Linked DNA regions of Homo sapiens: regions 1, 2 and 4 are each linked to region 3. The links are contacts of gene promoters, found by promoter capture Hi-C in blood cells and fetal thymus (Javierre and others, 2016). All regions are on one chromosome and are shown on one strand. Each heading gives the region's core, a stretch centred on a gene start or on the middle of the fragment in contact. The rest is flanking DNA. Distances are from core to core; before and after follow the strand shown.

What was found. Contacts are between HindIII fragments. The CHiCAGO score rates a contact against its expected background, and 5 or more counts as called.
Region 1: a fragment that was not itself captured here is called in contact with the fragment with the promoter of SDK1 in region 3 in 1 of 17 cell types (activated CD4 T cells); the score reaches 6.2 in activated CD4 T cells.
Region 2: a contact is called between a fragment that was not itself captured here and the fragment with the promoter of SDK1 in region 3, in 1 of 17 cell types (activated CD4 T cells). The highest score is 5.3, in activated CD4 T cells.
Region 4: a fragment that was not itself captured here is called in contact with the fragment with the promoter of SDK1 in region 3 in 3 of 17 cell types (activated CD4 T cells, non-activated CD4 T cells and total CD8 T cells); the score reaches 9.1 in activated CD4 T cells.

The regions. Positions count from the first base shown.
Region 1 is chr7:3,617,969-3,621,042 of GRCh38, forward strand. SDK1 (sidekick cell adhesion molecule 1) reads left to right here. Exons shown (of 45, transcript NM_152744.4): 2 at 1,112-1,271. Among named protein-coding and RNA genes, the nearest start is that of SDK1-AS1, 270 kb to the left of the region's middle. The HindIII fragment of the contact is 1,363 bases long and covers 800-2,162 here.
Region 2 is chr7:3,594,348-3,597,520 of GRCh38, forward strand. All of the region lies in intron 1 of SDK1 (sidekick cell adhesion molecule 1), which reads left to right. Among named protein-coding and RNA genes, the nearest start is that of SDK1-AS1, 240 kb to the left of the region's middle. The HindIII fragment of the contact is 4,736 bases long and covers 1-3,173 here.
Region 3 is chr7:3,299,258-3,302,640 of GRCh38, forward strand. SDK1 (sidekick cell adhesion molecule 1) reads left to right here and starts at 1,995. Exons shown (of 45, transcript NM_152744.4): 1 at 1,995-2,627. The coding sequence starts at 2,330. It overlaps SDK1-AS1 (SDK1 antisense RNA 1), which reads right to left. Exons shown (of 3, transcript XR_001744897.3): 1 at 2,972-3,383. RefSeq lists enhancers at 562-1,074, 1,075-1,586, 2,296-2,796 and a silencer at 1,472-2,021. The HindIII fragment of the contact is 8,975 bases long and covers 1-3,383 here.
Region 4 is chr7:3,640,632-3,643,990 of GRCh38, forward strand. SDK1 (sidekick cell adhesion molecule 1) reads left to right here. Exons shown (of 45, transcript NM_152744.4): 4 at 1,327-1,474. Among named protein-coding and RNA genes, the nearest start is that of SDK1-AS1, 290 kb to the left of the region's middle. The HindIII fragment of the contact is 741 bases long and covers 1,496-2,236 here.

The DNA.
Region 1 (3,074 bases), core at 231-2,730, 320 kb after region 3:
GCCTGAATGAAAGTTAGAAAGCTGATTATGCAGGTGGATCTTGGGGACTTTTGTAGAAAAATGACGAGTCATATAATCCTGTTTATTTTGCTGATAAAGAAACAAAAACCTGTAAGTCCTGATGAGGATCAGGTAGCTAATTAGTGATGCTACAGCTAGAAGCCAAGTGTGCTGCATCCATATTAAAAAATGTTATTGAAACAGATCTACAAAACATTGACAAATCATATCTAGTATTCTCTCCATTTTCACAAAGTAAATGTACCTTTGTAACCACATCAGGAAATAAATTTTGACCTGCTTTTCATAAGCCATCCCATTACCTTCACCCCCGTCGCTATCCCATCCCTCAGAGGTAACCCTTATCCTTAACCTCTGACACCATAGATTAGTTTTATCTGGCTGTGAACTTTTATGAACTTTTGAATAGTAGCACATGCTATAAGCTTTTTTGAAAATTCTGTCTGGCTTCTTTCACTCGGCTTGATGTGTGTGGGATTTACCTGTGTTGCTATGTGTAGCAATTGTTGCTGCATTCTCGCTGCAGTGCGCTGTTCCATTATGTGAATATACCATGAGTTTCCTGTGTTGTATCCCATTGAAAGTCACCAGGAGAGACCATTTCCACGTGTGTATGAAAGGAAAGCTAGGTTGCGATTCATGTCGTTTATGTATGTATGTCAATCTTGCTTATCTTACTTTTTTAAAACCAATTGAAGGTTATAGAGGAAACTTCTCTTTTATAGCCTGCATACACTTGACTGTTTTCTCGCAAATAGATTGCCTAGTTAAAACCAAAAGCTTGTATGTACAGGGATTGTCCGATATGTCCCTTCAATAAGCTATTAACCATAAGTGGAAATAACTTGGATGAACCTGTCAGATGCTTTCAAATGCGGGTATCATTGAGCTTTCAGCTTTTTGAAATATTATCTGGGGTATTGCATGTTTCCAGGGTTTGGTAAAGGATTATTTACTTCTTAATTGGGCCAAACAGCCATCACTTTCATTTTAATATTACGTTTGTTTAAATAATAGATTTATTAAATTAGATGAGTGCCACTTTCATGCGTACTTCAGTTTTGTTTTGTTTTGTTTTTTAATATTTCAGATGATGTTGCTCCATATTTTAAAACGGAGCCAGGCCTACCACAGATCCACCTGGAAGGGAACCGCCTTGTTCTCACCTGCCTTGCCGAAGGGAGCTGGCCTTTGGAGTTCAAGTGGATGCGCGATGACAGTGAGCTCACCACCTACAGCAGCGAATATAAGTAATTGATCGCTTGAAAAAATAAGATCCCATTTCAGTTGATGTGTTTGGAATACTTGCCTTACTGGTCATAATAGCACAATGAGTGAAAATATTGGATTGAATTTCTAATGCATTCAAGATTAAAGGAATAGATTTGAATATGTAATTAGAATGTGATTTACTATTCTGATATAGGTTGTACTTACACCTAGGAAGTCTATCATTATATTTGTAAAAGTAAGCCCATTAGTGAAATTATCAGTCAACAAAAACCTATGGTTACAGAGCAATGCCAATAACAGCTTTGGTATGATACATTTACTTTCCAAGGGCAACAGCCCTACCCACAAGTATTGCTCCTGTCTAGGCACAAATGTTTAAACAGATCTTTAGTATGGTAGCTTCTGGAGCTCTGAGTAGTCAGCAAAAGTCTTTCCTAGCTGTTTTCAAGTGGAGATAGGGATGGATGGAATCATGGAGAATGGGCATGCATACAGCCTGTATATTCAGCAGCAATAAAACAGTATATATTGAAGTCCTGCCATGTGCCCAGCACTGTGCCAGTCACCAGGGATCTGATGCACTGGGGTGGACATGATGTGGGGACAGAGGGCCTGAACCTGTGGCAGAGCACAAGATCAGGGTAAGACTGAGGTGTAGATTCACCTGGAGGCAGTAGCACAGCCTTTGGAGCCTCAGGGTCTTACCACGCTTCAGAGCTTTCCAGGGGTATACTTTTGAGGATGATAATATTACATGCTGCAGTTCTGTGCAGGATGGAGAACTAGCATGCCAGAAAAGTCCAGGAGGCCTCACCATCAGCAAATCAGCAAAATCATCGCTGCCATGCTTTTCTTTAGATGAAATAAGAAAGAGTGGGCTGTATAGAGGCATTTTAAGTGGAATAACAAGCTTCTCAAATGGGGAATAGCCCACCCACTCACTCTCTTTACCTCTGAGGTTGTGATACGGTGGTCCGTGGAACCACACTCAGCCTGCCCAGAATTTATGTGTGTGTCAGTTGTCTGTGTGTTTGTATTTTAAAAATCAATTAAAAAAAATATGAGAATGCTTACAGCATTTTTTTTTTTTTTAATTTGAGACGGAGTTTCACTCTTGTTGCCCAGGCTGGAGTGCAGTGGCGCGATCTTGGCTCACTGCAACCTCCACCTTCTGGGTTCAAATGATTCTCCTGCCTCAGCCTCCCAAGTAGCTGGTTCTACAGGCGTGAGCCACCACACCTGGCTAATTTTTGTATTTTTAGTAGAGATGGGGTTTCACCATGTTGACCAGGCTTGTCTCAAACTCCTGACCTCAGGTGATCTGCCTGCCTTGGCCTGCCAGATTGCTGGGATTACAGGTGTGAGCCACAGCATATTTTTTTATTAGCTGCCAACATTTGACAGTTCTAAGATTTTCTGTAAAAACCTTGCTTCCCAGCCTCTGCAGACCAGTCAGAAGGCCTGGCTGCCTGGTCTGCAGCCCCAATCAGGAGCAGGCGGCTGAGCAGAGCTGCCCCCATCAAAGGCATGGACACTCCCTGGTTCTCCTCGGTGCTCTCTGGCAGCCCCGTCCCTTGTAGCACCTCACTTGCTCTCCCCATTCCCATTACCCACCCACACTTTAGACAAGTGAGTGTGTGACTGCTTACATTATTGGGCCTACCCTGTTGGAGGATCTACACTCGAGGAAAAGTTTATCATAGTAGATCATAGCATGTTGAAATCAAACAGTCCTGAATCCTAGGACTGGCAGAATTCAGCTCCACCACACCTGAGCAATGGTGTTATAACTTTAGGCAGGTGACCCATGAGCCCTCCCC
Region 2 (3,173 bases), core at 421-2,920, 290 kb after region 3:
ATCAGTTGATAGACATTTGGATTGTTTCTGCTTTTTGGCTATCATGAATAATGCTGCTATGAGCATTGATAATACAAGTTTTTGTGTGGATGTATGTTTTCGTTTCTCTTGAGTATATACCTAAGGATGGAATTACTGGGTCGTATGGTAACTTGATACCTAACATTTTGAGAGACCGCCAAACCATTTCCATTTTACATTGCCGCCGGTCATGTATGAGGGTTCTGATTTCTCCACATCCTTGCCAACACTTGTAATTGTTTGTCTTTTTGATTCTAGTCACTTTACTGGGTGGTTTGGGTGGGTTACCTCATTAATTGTGACTTTGATTTTAATTTTCCCAGTGACTAATGACATTGAACATTTTTCCTGTGCTTATTAGTCTAAATATACTATTGATTGTAAGAAAAATTGCTTACTGTTTTAGAGATAATACTGATATAAGAACCATCAGTCCCTGCTTTCATTAGAGGGGCAAGAGTGAGGATAGTTTTAAAATCAAGCATACTTAAAGAATCATACCTGCATCTCATTAAAAGAAAATGTTATTTCTAGGTAAAGCTAAATCATCATTAATGTATAGGGTTTACTGTTTTTCTAGTAGGTTTATGTGTAGAGCACTCATTTTGTTTGGTTTAATCTCTAGTTGCTTTTATGTTTTAATTTAACAAAAATGGGTGATTGGAAAGATGGAAAATACCCTTGTTGCCACCACAGTGAGTTCCAATTTGATTTCAGCAACGCGTAGAAGATTGAAGTCAGATGCAGCCAATTTTCTCCCGATTACTTTTTTTTTGAATCTTGCCTGAATAATGTGAGCTTTTTCAGCTAGCTAATTAACACTGTTTTTTTCTGCCATATTGGTGACTTTATGATATTTTGCTTGTAATTATATATATATTCATTTATATACTTCTACCCTATTCGTAACTTTATGATATTTTGCTTGTAAAAAATTATATATAAATTCATTTATATACTTCTACCCTATTTATTAAATGTCCCCTGCATGAAATATATATTAATAGCTACTGCATGGATTATCTTTGATTGCTTTTCTAATAACAGTTATCTGGACTTTGCTTGGTCTTGGGTAAGAGGCATATTTGTATGTATATTTTCTCATTTTTGAAACAGAAACATAAACTGTTGCCTCCGATATATTTAATAAAACTCACCAGCACTACTGATAATATTTAATTATGCAGTTATAATTCTATTCATTTTTAGTTTACATTCTGAATCTTAGGGGCAGTGAGGCAGAGTGACATGATCATGGAAGTATTTGTACCACAGGGGTTTGACCTTGACTCTGCCACTTCCTGCGTGACTTTGAACTAGTCAAAGTTACCAGTTCAAAGTTAGACTTTGAACGAGTCTAATTGTTAGAGAATGGCATGAACCCGGGAGGCGGAGCTTGCAGTGAGCCCAGATAGTGCCACTGCACTCCAGCCTGGTCGACAGAGTTAAGACTTCATCTCAAAAAAAAAAAAAAAAAAAAAAAAAAAACAACAACAAAAAAGGAGGTTACAGTCTGTTTATGTTGTCTAGTTACTAGTCAACACTAACCACTCTGGCTCGGTGTTTTAACCTGTCTAATGGGTATTTTTTTTTTTTTTTTAAGTCATACCATCTACCTGATGCGGTCGTTGTGAGAACATTTCAGATAGTATTTATTAAAATATTTCCTCCTTGGTATGAAGTAGATGCTCAATAATTGTTAGGTAGCACAGATTAATTATCCTTTATCTAAAAATTCCAAATCTGAAATGCTCCAGTGAGCATTTCCTTTGTTGGTGCTCAAAAAGTTCCGCATTTTGGAGCGTTTCAGTCTGTCGTTCCAGGGGTAGTAACAGAAGCTGTCATCTTGCTGGCTCTTCCATCTGGCTGGGTTGCATGAGAGTTAAACAGTAATAGGAGAAATGAAATTTCAGTAATAGGCAGTCTCCTTAGCACAATAATTGGTACAAGAGAGTAAGTCTGACAGTGCCAGTGACCATCAGAACAAACCACAGTCATTGTGGTAAAGTTGCTCGAGGCAGTGACTGAGGAAAGTGTGTCTCCATTTCTGTAACAATGGGTAGATGTCTGCTCTAAGGATTTTTAATTGAGGTAAAATGTACAGAAAGCATGAAAAGAATTTCATAGATGTTAAGTGCATAAGCCGGTAAGTTTTGACAAACGCATGGACTTTGTGACCACCTCCTCACTCCAGATGAACGTCTCCATCACCCCTGCAAGTTCCCTCAGGCCCTTCCAATTAATCTCCATCCCTGTAGGCAGTCGTTTTTCTGATTTCTTTTCAAATAGATAAATATTACCTGTGCTTGAATTTCATATGAAGGAAATCAAAATGTTAAAAGAAGAACTTCAGACAAAGGAAATTTAGCAGAGTTTAATTGAGCGAAGACTAATTCTGGAATCAGAAGCCCCCAGGCTAGCCTAAGTTCAGAGTAACTCATGCTGCCACATCATCAGATAACACTTATGAACAGAAAAAGGAAAGCACCATAAAAGATAGAAGTGAGGTACAGGTACAGAAACAGCTAGATTGGTTACAGCTTAGCGTCTGCCTTACTTGAACACAGTTTGAACACTGGCCGCCTGTGATTGGCCAAAACTGGTATAAGAGTAGGTTACAGGCTGAGCGAGGTGACTCACACCTGTAACCCCAGCACTTTGGGAGGCCGAGGCAGGCGGATCATGAGGTCAGGAGATCGAAACCATCCTGGCTAACACGGTGAAACCCTGTCTCTACTAAAAATACACAAAAAATTAGCCGGATGTGGTGGCGGGTGCCTGTAGTCCCAGCTACTCAGGAGGCCGAGGCAGGAGAATGGCGTGAACCCGGGAGGCGGAGCTTGCAGTGAGCCCAGATCGCGCCACTGCACTCCAGCCTGGTCGACAGAGTAAGACTTGGTCTCAAAAAAAAAAAAAAAAAAAAAGAGGATGTTACAGTCTGTTTATGTTATCTAGTTACAGTTCACTTTGTACTGAGAAAACTTCTCCCCTTTTGGTCAACTTCTCCATTTTCACATCACTCTTTCAGTGTCATAAAGAGACTGAAACCTCAAATCCCACTGGGAAATAGCAGAACAGTGGGTTTTGTAAGATAGAAACAGGACACAGAACACCGGCGGCGGGGAGGCCACCTGTTGGTTACTTCAGGTTGC
Region 3 (3,383 bases), core at 745-3,244:
ATTTATTTATTTATTTATTGAGACAGAGTCTCACTCAGTCGCCCAGGCTGGAGTGCAGTAGCAAGGTATCGGCTCACTGCAACCTCCACCTCCCAGGTTCAAGCAATTCTCCTGCCTCAGCCTCCCGAGTAGCTTGGACTACAAGCGCACGCCACTACGCCTGGCTAATCATCTTCTTCTTCTGTCTTTCTTCTTCATTTTCTTCTTTCTTTTTTCTTTTCTTTTTTTTTTTTTTAACTGCAGACGAGGTTTCACCATGTTGGCCAGGCTGGTCTTGAACTGACCTCAAGTGATCCGCCCGCCTCGGCCTCCCAAAGTGCTGGGATTACAGGTGTGAGCTACCGCGCCCGGCCCACTTCTTTATGCCTCAGTTTCTCCATCTGTACCAGGGCCAGCACCTCTCACACAGCAGGTAGTGAAGCTGCTGCTGCTGCTGCCCTGGGCTGGCCTACAGTGAGTGCTCACTGCACAGGAGGTATTGCTTCCCCCCGCCCAGCAGGTTCTCATTATAATCTTGCAAGTTTGAAGAAACCCAGCCTTGCTACCAACAGAAGATAAAAACAGACATGCCTCTCTGCCTCCAGTCTCATCCCCATGTCCTTGGGGAGCTGTCCTCTTCCGGCTCGTCCCATCTATGCGCCCTCACTATATCCTCAGAACAGGGCACTCCGTGGCTCCTTTAACTTTTTTGCCCCTCCTAGCATGGTGTGGAAAGGGGGCAGATGGGAGGCCTCTTTCTGAAACCACCTCCTGTTCGGCGGCTGTACTTGGACCTCAGTTTCCCTGTTTTGTTCACGTGGTCATTGTTAAGTCTTAGGGGACGTGTACAGAGGCTAATATTGAGCCACCAATCAGTTATTTGACAAATACCATAGGCGCTCTGTGAGCAGGAGCTGGCTCCTATCCCAGACCCCAGCCCTGTGACCTGCTCTCCACTCGCCCGGGGTCTTTCTTGGCTGGGACAATAAACCTACTGCATCAGGTGATTCCTGGGGAGTCAGCCCCGTGCTGGGCTCACACCCAGCCCCTCTGCGTTCATCTCTTACATGATCTCATGCGACCATCATCACACGTCCCCAGGCTCCTCCCGGGCCAACTCCAGAGGCAGTGCGTGTCACCTCCAGCTCTCCTCCCACAAAAATGCTGGCCTTTCAGCCTCCAGTGCGCTTAGTTCACCCCATAAACTCTGCTAATGCTTACCACATGCTGAGCGTCGGCGCCCGTCCCCACCCCCAGCCCCACAGGCTCCCGGGTCCCGCCCTGGGAGACCCTCCCACTGGCCGACCCTGCCCCAAGACTCGCCCACTCCACGGTGGGAAACCTGCAATGTGTCCCTCCCTACCCCGCCCTCCTCCAGCGCCGGCCAAAAGTGACCTTGGACGCTTCTACAATGCCATATCCACTCCTCTGAACAGGAGGCGAGTTTGCACCCAGTGGTGCCTTTGGTTGCTAGAAATTAAAAACCCGATTGCGCGTGTTTGCAATTACGGTAACTTGGCGCGTCACCCCCAAGCACTGAGCTAGCTGGTGGTAGCCGGGCGCCTCTCGGGGCGCGCCCTATTCCGCCCTCGGCCCTGGGCTGCCGCACGATCTGCGCGTCCTGCTGCACCTGAGCCCTTCCCACTCGGGCGCCCGCACCGCTGCGGGGCCGGGCGAGGATGCACCACCCCCGCCCGCGAGCCCGCCACGGGAGCGCGTGCCGAATCGACGCCGCCTGCAGTCCCCACTACGGGTCCCTAGGGGGCGCAGCCGGCGCGGGAAGCCGCCCGAGCCAGGCGCCGCGGCCGGCACAAAATTGCAGGCGGGCGGGCGCCGCGACTTTGAAAACAAGCGAGGGCCTGGGGGGCGGGCCCTGGGAGCGGGCGCCGCCTCCCTCGGCCAATCAACGGCGGGCGGCGGGCGGCGGGCGCGGGCGGCGCGTGCGGCCGGGCTGTGAATGGGGAGCGGCGGCCGCGGCAGCTGAGGGCGAGCGCGACCGCGACGTGCGGGCGGGCGCACTTTCTTCTCAGCGCCGGGCGGGGGCGGCGGCGGCGGCGGCTCCTCCGCGCCCGGCGGACCCCTCGGAGCTAGCGCGGCGGGCTCGGGACTGCGTGAGCGCCGGACGCGAATTTCCCCCGTTGACAACTTCTTCTCGCCCGGCTCGTCCCCGGCCCGCGCCGCGCCCCTCACGCGGGGACCCAGGACGCCGCCCCTCAGCGCTGGGCGGCCGCTCACCTCGGGCCGGGGGGCGCCGCGCCTCCCGCGGAGTGGCCGCGCCCGCTCGGAGCCGTCCCGCCTGTCCTGCCCGCCCGTCCGTCCGGCGCGGCGCTCGGGGTGGCGGCTGCTCGGCATGGCCCGGGGCGCCCGGCCCTCGGCGGCCGGTGGCGGCGGCGGCGGCGCGGAGCCCCCTGAGCGCGCGGGCCCCGGGCGGCCGCGGGGATCCCCGCCCGGCCGCGCCCGCCCCTCGCTGGCGCCGCGCCCCGGCCCGGAGCCCTCGCGACCCCGGGCGGCGCCCGAGACCTCCGGCGGGGACACGGCGGGCGCGGGGCGGTGCGGCGGGCGGCGGGCGGCAAAGTTGGGGCCGGGCCGCCGCGGCTGGTGGGCGCTGCTGGCGCTGCAGCTGCACTTGCTCCGGGCGCTGGCGCAAGGTAGGTGCGCGCGGGGTCGCGGGCCGGGGGCGTCGCCTCGGGGCGCGGAGGCGCGAACTTGAGCAGCGAGAGTGTGTCCGGGGTCCCCCCGCTTCCCGGCCCGGGTCGGGATGCGCCTTGCTGGGGGCTCTAGGGAGCCCAGGGGCTCCTCCACGCCAGACTCGGAGGAGAGGGAAACGGAGCCCCGTAGAGCCTGCACCCCGTCTGCTACTTTGCGTTTTATTTTTTTTATACCGCAGTAGCACAAACAAAAATTTTTAAGTTGAGGACCCATTTCTCAGCTCCTTAAAAGGATGCCCGAGTCCCCTTCCCATTGCATGGATGAAAAAGGGGCTGGTCTGTACCTGAGTCTTCGCACCGCAGGGTCTGGTTTCCGGTGAGTGACATCCAGAAGACTTGGAAATATCAAGTGCCAGTCGCTGTGAAAAGCCTTTTCCAGCCCCTCCCCAGGGCCTCGTCCTCTCCCCAGCCCCCGCCTGCTCCTGACTCCCCCAAGTCCCAAAGCCCGACCCCAAGTGGGTGCTGCGCGGCCGGTGGAGCAAAACTTTCAGTGCCCACAGCTTTTGCACTTGGCTTTGTTTTTCTCCCTCTATTGGCTTCTGTTTAGAATACAGTGGTGAGCTCTGAAATAGGGAAAGAGGATCTGCTGAATGGAAATGACCTTTTGAAACGAGAGATGGGATCTCTTGTGAAACGAGCTTTCCTTCCCAAATCTGGGCTTCCCTCCACCCCCTCCCCGCCCCCGACAAAACCCGT
Region 4 (3,359 bases), core at 616-3,115, 340 kb after region 3:
GAATTTTGCTTAATTATGTTTTTGTTTCTGTTCTGTATCTCTAGCTCTTCAATTTTTTTTTTTCTTTTTTGAGACGGAGTCTGGCTCTGTCACCCAGGCTGGAGTGCAGTGGCACAATCTTGACTCACCGCAACCTCCGCCTCCTAGGTTCAAGTGATTCTCCTGCTTCAGCCTCCTGAGCAGCTGGGATTACAGGCACCCACCACCACACCCAGCTAATTTTTGTATTTTTGGTAGAGATCGGGCTTCACCATGTTGGCCAGGCTGGTGTCAAATTCCTGACCTCGTGATCCACCCGCCTCGGCCTCCCAAAGTGCTGGGATGACAGGTGTGAGCCACTGTGCTCTGCGTTTAGATTTTTTTTTTTTAATCTTTCTTTTCTCCTTTGCTTTGATAACAAATTTCATTTTCTTTTGAAAAAACTATGAGTATTTTTCTAATCTGTTTTGTTGGTTTGTTTCATCTTTTCCCTCAAGTATTAGACACTGTCACATAGAAAATGTCTTTTGACTGAAGAAGACATTGATAATAGAGCACTTCTGTGGACTATTTCAAACTTATTTATGTTTAAATAAAAATACACTATTTTGCCATATCTGTTTGTATATATATTTACATCTGACCATAATATGGAATCTTATTCAAAATTTTCAAATGTTACAAATTTTAAAATTAGCCTTTTATACCTACATTCTAATAGCTATGTTTTGTCCTATGACCCCATTTTTTAAATTTTTTTTATCAGTAGAACAAATACTGGAACAAAAGCTAGTTGCCCCAGATTAAGTCAACAGTATGAGAGTGGGAGAATAGTATATAGACTCTTCAGTGGTTAGGAAATATTGCTCCCAAAAGATCTGTGCAGGAGACAGTGACCTCACAAATGAAGGAAACAAGCTGAAGAGAGCAAGGGCCGGTGCCGGGCTGGAACGAGTTTGAAAGATTTAGGAGCTAGGAGATGTCTGGACACATTTTCTGACAGTTTCTGAGAAAACTGCTTCACGTGGCTCTAGGATGGCTTCAGCATTTCATTTCAGTGTCACAGACAGTTGCAGACATTTCCTTGTATTGTCAGGTAGGACAAAGACCATGTGGCTTTGCTGAGGAATGTGCAGCGTGGGCGCTTTGGAGGCGCGTGGCTTGCCCGGTGCTTCACTCGCAAGCAGATCCGCGTTGGTCAGCGCTGCCGTGCAGTCTCGCTCGTCCTGGTGTGAAATGTGGCAGCATCAGTGACTTTACTGTAACACTTACCTGTTTCCATCTGTGACCCCTTCCCTCCCCCAAAAATGTTTTCTAGAACTTGAAAGCACTTCTTTTTCTCTGCAGATATGGGAAGTTTCATGGATACGGACCAGAGGAAAACAGTTTCTCAAGGACGTGCAGCGATTCTAAACCTGCTGCCCATCACCAGCTACCCCAGACCTCAAGTGACTTGGTTTAGAGAAGGGCACAAGATTATTCCAAGCAACAGAATGTAAGTTGCTCCAAACGTTAAAGCTTCAAATACAATTGTAATGTCACTTGCTGGCACCATCTACACAGTAAGTGTACCAATTAAGGTTACCGATGATTTAAAAAGAGCAAACTAGTCTAGGAGTCCTATCCTAATTTTTAATAAACAGCTATTTGAGGACTGGCTTGAATATTTTTAACCAGTTTAAGCAAATAACTGTCTAATATTATTCTTCAGAATGTTGCATGCCCTAAAACTAAAGCAGCCTTACCCAACTTTGCAGTCCATTTTTTTCTTTTCTGAGTGTACTTTTTAAGATGTCATTGTCATCCCTGAGTTGGGTTTGCCTCCTAGTACTAATTTAATGAGTGCTGGTATTTACTTACAGTGCTGTGGGGTTTTTTTTCCCCCTCCTTTTATTGAGCCATGTTTGATACTGCTTTCTCTGACGATAAAACAGTAATTACTGCTTATTTCTCTTTATCCTTTTATCCTACCATGACAGTTTTATTTCTCTTCATCTAATTAGTGGTTCACCCATCTATTGCAGAATAGTTGCTTTGTGATTAGTTAGGCAAGAACATCTTGAAATAATGCTTATCTCACATTCAAGATATTTATCTAATGCCCGACAGGTTTTCTTCACTTGGAGCTTTAAGTGATTAAAAAGAACACTTGGTATATATTTCATAACTGGACATTTTACAACCTAATTTAAAGACAATATTCCAAACATAAAGGTTTCAAGGCTGAACATTTCCAGAAGAATCATGAAATGCTATAAGCTTAGGCCAGAAGTCAGATATTTATGCCATCCAGTGGTTGCACTCAGATAAAAATTCATCAGGAGCAAATACTATTGTTGTGCTTTTTCAAAAAGAATATGTGTGAGGTCATTTGCCAAATAGATTTTACATCTAACTGTGAAAGTCACTGTGGGAACCCACCTGCTCTCTCCCCTACCTGAGCATCTGTGGAATCCCTTCCCGAAGCCTTGTGATTCTCATCTCCAACCCTACCTGAGCATCTGTGGAATCCTTTCGCTAAATCTCATGATTCTCCTCTCCACCCCTACCTGAGCATCTGTGGAATCCCTTCCTGAAGGCTCATGATTCTTGTCTCCCACCCCTACCTGAGCATCTGTGGAATCCCTTCCCTAAACCTCATGATTCTCATCTACCTGAACATCTGTGGAATCCTTTCCCTAAACCTCGTGATTCTCATCTCCCACCCCTACCTGAGCATCTGTGGAATCCTTTCCCTAAACCTGGTGATTCTCGTCTCCCACCCCCACCTGAGCATCTGTGGAATCCCTTCCCTAAAGCTGTTGATTCTCGTCTCCTACCCCCACCTGAGCATCTGTGGAATCCTTCCCCTAAACCTGGTGATTCTCCTCTCCCACTCCCACCTGAGCAACTGTGGAATTCCTTCCGTAAACCTCGTGATTCTTGTCTCCACCCCCACCTGAGCATCTGTGGAGTCCCTTCCCTAAACCTGGTGATTCTCCTCTCCCACCCCCACCTGAGCATCTGTGGAATCCCTTCCCTAAGCCTCCTGATTCTCTTCTCCCATCCCCACCTGAGCATCTGTGGAATCCCTTCCCTAAACCTCATGATTCTCATCTCCCACCCCTACCTGAGCATCTGTGGAATTCCTTCCCTAAACCTGGTGATTCTCCTCTCCCACCCCCACCTGAGCATCTGTGGAATCCTTTCCCTAAGCCCCATGTCTCCAGTCTTCTAGTTCTGGACCAGGATCTGGCTGGAACCTAAATAATAATAATTATTATTATTACTATTAATAATTATATAATACTTATAATTAATAATTATTATTTTGAGACAGAGTCCCTCTGTCACCCAGGCTGAGGTACAGTGGCGTGATCTCAGCTCACTGCAACCTTTCC